2 separate regions of the Homo sapiens genome follow, and region 1 is linked to region 2. Evidence: promoter capture Hi-C in 16 types of primary human blood cells and fetal thymus (Javierre and others, 2016). All regions are on one chromosome and are shown on one strand. Each heading gives the region's core, a stretch centred on a gene start or on the middle of the fragment in contact. The rest is flanking DNA. Distances are from core to core; before and after follow the strand shown. Region 1 overlaps KIAA1328. Region 2 holds the start of PIK3C3 (phosphatidylinositol 3-kinase catalytic subunit type 3).

Region 1 (2,777 bases), core at 93-2,592, 5.1 Mb before region 2:
CCTCATTATCTGCCCGCCTCGGCCTCCCAAAGTGCTGGGATTACAGGTGTGAGCCACCATGCCCATCCTACCTTGGAGTAATTTTTAAAGTATCTCTTTTGTTTGAGGTTTGTTGAGCTTTTTGGGACTGTGGGTTTATAGTTTTCATCAAATTGGGAAATGTTTCAGCCATTGTTTCTCCAGATATTTTTGTTTCCCTCTCTTTCTAGTGACCTTAGTTGCACAAATACTAGGCCTCTTGAAGTTACCCTCTCAGCTCTCTGATCCTCTGTTCATATTTTTTTCATTAAAAAATTTTTTTGTTTATCCTTGGATAGTTTGTATTGCTGTTGCTATGTCTTCAAATTCATTAACCTTCTGCAATGTCTAATCTGCCACTAATCTCATCCAGTGTGTTTTTCATATGAAACAATGTAGTTTTATCTTTAGAAGTTCAGTTTCAGTCTCTTATTTTTGTTTACATCTTCCATGTCGCTACTTGACATGCTTTCTTCTAGGTTCTTGAACATATGGAACATAGTTATAATAACTGTTTCAATATTCTTGACTATGAATTCTATCATCCAAGTCATTTGTGGATAGGTTTCAATTGAGCAATTTTTCTCCTAATTATAGGCTGTATTTTTCTGCTTCTTTGCCTGCTTGGTTGTCTTTTATTGGATGTCACAAGACAGTATGCATTTTGCCTTTTTGGGTTCTGAGACAGTGATAAATTATTTGGAAGCAATTTGATTCTTTCCAAGCTTCATTTTGAGCTTTTAAAGGTGGTGCCAGAGCAGCTTTTAGTATAGGGGTAATTTTGCCCATTGTAGGCCATACTCTTTTGAATACTCTTCCTGATGCCCCTTAAATTACAAGGTTTTCCCCTCTGGCTGGTGGGAACAGACTGTTCTCCTATGCTGTATTAGCTACAGAAATTGTTTCCACTGTTCATTTTGGGCTCTTTCCCCGGGATGAGTAGTTTTCTCACATACATATGCTGGTCAGTGCTCAGTAGTTGACGCGAAGGGATTCTGCAGATCCCTGGAGCTCTCCTATGCAGCTCTATCCTTGGCATTACTTTGCCCTGCAAGGTTTCTAGTGTTTCTGCAAACACTAGAAACCTTGGCTTTCCTGGACTCCCAGCTGTATCTTTTCAACTCAGGGAGATTGCTGGGCTCTGTCTGGATTTACCTACCTTAGCCCTGAAAACTCTCCACAGCAGTTAGCTGGGACAGTTGTAGGGCTCGCCTTGTTTGTTTCTGCAATTCCAGTGATCATTCTGTGTTGCCTGCTATCCAATGAAAACTATTGTTTCCTGTTTTTTTGTCAGGTTTTTGTTTTGTTTTGTTTTCTGAAACTAGGGTAAATCTGGTCCCTGTTACTCCATCTGGGCTAGAAGAGGATGTCCTACATTGTCGGGGGTATATGTGTCTATGTGTGCTTTTTCTTAAAACTAGAAATGGTGGTTTGCTTTTTCTTTTCCTTTTTTCCATTGAAGAGCATGTCTTGTGATTTTTTTTTTTTTTTTTGACAGAGTCTGGCTCTGTAGCCCAGGTACAGTGGCATGGTCTCGGCTCACTGCAACCTCTGCCTCCTGGGTTCTGGTTCAAGAAATTCTCATGCCTCAGCCTCTCAACTAGCTGGGATTACAGGAACGCACTACCATGCCCAGATGATTTTTGTATAAACAGAGATGGGGTTTCACTATGTTGACCAGGCTGGTCTTGAACTCCTGACCTCGTGATCCACCCACCTCGGCCTCCGAAAGTGCTGGGATTATAGGCATGAGCCACTGTGCCCAGCCATCTTGTGATTTTTTTCTCTGTGTAGTCTTTGTTGGTATTGATGTTGAGTATCCTTAATTCATTAAGGATTTCACAGTGGTAATTAGGTCAGTTCAAGTCTTCTGGGAAGCAGACCGCGAGATGGAATTAGAAATGGAAGAGATTTAATGAAGGAAAAGCTTATAAAGCATAAAGAGTAGAATGAGCAGGAATCTTCAGATTTCACTACAGTCTGGCACCTGTGACAGGAGAGGAAAAGAAGGAAGATTGACTAGGAAGAACCTCAGACTTCAGATTGCCATGCAATCTGAGATAAGTGTCCTTTTTGCTAGTGAGGAACCCCAGAGCAAATACTGCCTTTTGAGGATGCCATTTGGATCAGAAATAGCTCAGTTCTAGTGTCTCTACTGTTCCCAGTCATTGGTGTTGGTATGAACAGTGCAGTGGATCCCAAAGGTTTGGCAACTGGAGGCTGTTAGCTGATTATACTCTGCAGCAAGTTCCCTCTCTCTTTTGTGGCCATATTGCTTTATTTTTTACAGTTAAGCCTACTATTCATCAGGAAGTAATATGCACATGTAGTGTAAAGTAAGATTCACTGCAATTCAGAGAGAAAAGAATCCTCTTCCCAATAGATGGTGTTGGGCCCATAGACTGCCAGTATTGGGTCAATAGACTGTCAGTATTGGCCCAACACCATCTACTGGGAAGAGGATTCTTTTCTTCTTTGAATTGCAATGATACCATTGTTGTAAGTCAAGTGACTGTAGATATGTGGCCTTTCCTCATCATGTTTTCTTCTTTGGTAATTCGTATCCTGAACTTTATAATTCTTTTGTTTTTCCATATCGGGGTTCGCCGACTTTTTCTATAAATTGGACAGGTAGTAAATACTTTAACTTTTGCAGGCTGTAACATCTGTCTCAACAACTCAACTCTGCCACAGTAGCATTAAAAGAGCCATAAGCAATATGCAAATGAATGAGCACGTTTTAATAAACCTTTGTTTAC
Region 2 (2,700 bases), core at 25-2,524:
CTGGGAGGTGAAGCTTGCAGTGAGCCGAGATCGCGCCACTGCACTCCAGCCTGGGCAACAGAGAGACGGGCACTCCAGCCTGGGCAACAGAGCGACTCTGTCTCAAAAAAAAAAAAAAAAAAAAAAAAAGAAATGACATAGCAGTTTGGGAGGCCAGGGCAGGCAGATCACTGGAGGTTAGGAGTTTGAGACCCGACTGGCCAACATGGTGAAACCCCATCTCTATTAAAAATACAAAAATTAGCCTGACTGGGTGGCGGGTGCCTGTAATCCCAGCTACTTGGGAGGCTGATGCAGGAGAATCGCTTGAACCCAGGAGATGGAGGTTGCAGTGAGCCGAGATGGTGCCAGCCTGGGCGACAATAGCAAAACTCCATCTCAAAAAAAAAAAAAAAAAAGAAATAAAGGCATAGAAAATGGAGACTTTCATTCAATATCATCATTAATAACCAGTAAGTAGGAAGTATTAAACTCAGCAATGCATTAGACAGCTAGCGGGGCAAGACACGGAAGTAAATGGCACACTGGTCTTACCTTCCAAGAGTTTTCAATCTAATTGGAAGGGAGTATTACAATTTTAGATTATAATAATTATAAAAACAAACATTATAGGAGCTCAGAGGGTTTAGAGATCTGTGTTCTGTAGTTATTACAGGAGGCCTCTAGATTCTAACTTGGGTTAGGGCTTGAAACTACATTGAATTTGAATATTCCCAGTTTAAACATGCACGCAAGTATTATGTCCAAAGTAGCATGAATACTGACAACACCAAACATGAAACCCAGATTTATTTATTCTCTATTTAGTCCTTTCCCTACTCTTTAGAGCAGAAAGAGAAAATCCTTGCTTGAGATAGCAAATTAGTGCTACACTTTTTGGGAAGGCCACTGGAATTTAAACCTGGCAAAATTCCAATTTTTGTGCTTGTAACCTGTTTAGCCGGCAGCCAGTGAAAGCTGTTATAATTCTTTTTGAATTGAATTTTCTTTCGTATTGTTTTAGGTACAGCTCAAGCTCAAATGATAGCGTCTCTTTTTCTTTAAAAAAAAAAAAAAGTGCTGTCAAGACAGGAAAACTGGAATGTAACCAGATTAGCCGTTTCCCGTATACATTTGCCCTTAAGCAAGATGGTGGGCGCCTTGTGCACATGCGCGGAAGGGTTGTTTCGGCGGGGAGTTCCGCCGCGTCGGAACTCGCTCCGGGCGTGGATTGGCGGCTTGCTGGCGGGGGCGGAACCGGAAGTTCCGTGTTGTGGGGCTCAGCTGGTTCATTTATGTTGTTTTTCCTGTACCTAAGTTCCCGCTGTAGGTGGTACCTTTGCAGACGGTGCGATGGGGGAAGCAGAGAAGTTTCACTACATCTATAGTTGTGACCTGGATATCAACGTCCAGCTTAAGATGTAAGAGAACACTCGGGACAGGGAGTGGGATTGCTGGGGCGTAGGGACGTGGGGGCAGGGGCCTGTTGGGAGTGAGAGGCAGAAAGTACGTGACTCGTCTCAAGGCCCAGATTGGGGGCGGCTGTGAGGGCTGTAGCCAGGGAGGCGCGAGAGAGTGGATCGTGGAGAGGGGCTCTTTTGGAAAAGGATTTAATACGTGGTCTCCGTGAGAAGCACAGCAGTAGGAATAGCCCTTAAGTTCCGCTGTATTTTACAGTCTTTAAAGTTTTTGCTGTTCAGCCTTTTGAGAGTTTATTACTATTTCATTGTAAATTAAGAAATCAAGTCTCGTCGTAAGTAAGAGGACGATCTTTATTTTGGAACGGGGCTTGTAGGGTGGAATGAAGGCTTCAGAAATTATGGAGAGGTAGACACAGGCAGATGCGATAGTTGAGAATAAGATGAGCACATGGTGTATTAGCACGGGAGGTGATAGAGGCCTAGAGTGAATCTTTGGGTAGTATGGCAGTGTTTAGTCAGGGAAGTTGGGAGTAAGTCGAAGATGAGGGTTCCAGTTTCAAAGGTACCAAGAAGATAGGAGAAAAGAGTCTTTGCAGGAAAACGTTGGGGCACCACGGCTGAAGTAAAGGTCAAGGGCGTGATATCTTGAGATGAGGATAATAGAACTGGTATAATGACGAGGGATGCACAAGACAGAGTTGGAAATTATGTCCCTTTTAAGGTGGTCATGTAGGAGTGTTGTCAAAGCTATCACAAATTATTGACCATAGCATCATCCATAATTAATAAACATTTCTTGTGTATGTTCAATTAATATTCAACAAATATGTGTCGGTCAAAGGCCTGCAGTAAGTGATAGATAAATTTTCTCAGTTGTCTGATGTACCTTTGAATGATCATTTCATTTTATTTTCAGAAGTCCCTTATTCGCTGACAAATACTTTACTTTTTAGTTTGTGGTGGTGGTGGTAAAAGTAATATGTCAACAACCACCTTGTACCTTTGTATGATACTTTATACACTCATTTAAGGTATTTTCCATAGCATACACCACTAGTAGTTTATACAGGATCAATATTGATAAAGGGCTTTCCTTCAGCTTGATGCTCAGTATTTCTTGGATATATGAATGCATTTTTTGAAATGTTTGAACATTAAAAATAAAGAAAAAGCCAAAAAAACCGGTCCCTTTTTTTTTTTTTTTTTTTTTTGGAGACAGGGTCTCACTCTGTCTCCTTTCCCTTTGGGATGACGTTCTGCTTCTTTTGCTTCAACTCTCATGCATTGTTCAGGATCATTT

What was found. The method cuts DNA at HindIII sites, captures the fragments that hold promoters and counts their contacts. A CHiCAGO score of 5 or more calls a contact.
Region 1: a fragment that was not itself captured here is called in contact with the fragment with the promoter of PIK3C3 in region 2 in 1 of 17 cell types (non-activated CD4 T cells); the score reaches 8.0 in non-activated CD4 T cells.

The regions. Positions count from the first base shown.
Region 1 is chr18:36,838,965-36,841,741 of GRCh38, forward strand. All of the region lies in intron 3 of KIAA1328, which reads left to right. Among named protein-coding and RNA genes, the nearest start is that of KIAA1328, 11 kb to the left of the region's middle. The HindIII fragment of the contact is 1,202 bases long and covers 742-1,943 here.
Region 2 is chr18:41,953,960-41,956,659 of GRCh38, forward strand. PIK3C3 (phosphatidylinositol 3-kinase catalytic subunit type 3) reads left to right here and starts at 1,275. Exons shown (of 25, transcript NM_002647.4): 1 at 1,275-1,400. The coding sequence starts at 1,333. RefSeq lists an enhancer at 1,053-1,232. The HindIII fragment of the contact is 3,603 bases long and covers 12-2,700 here.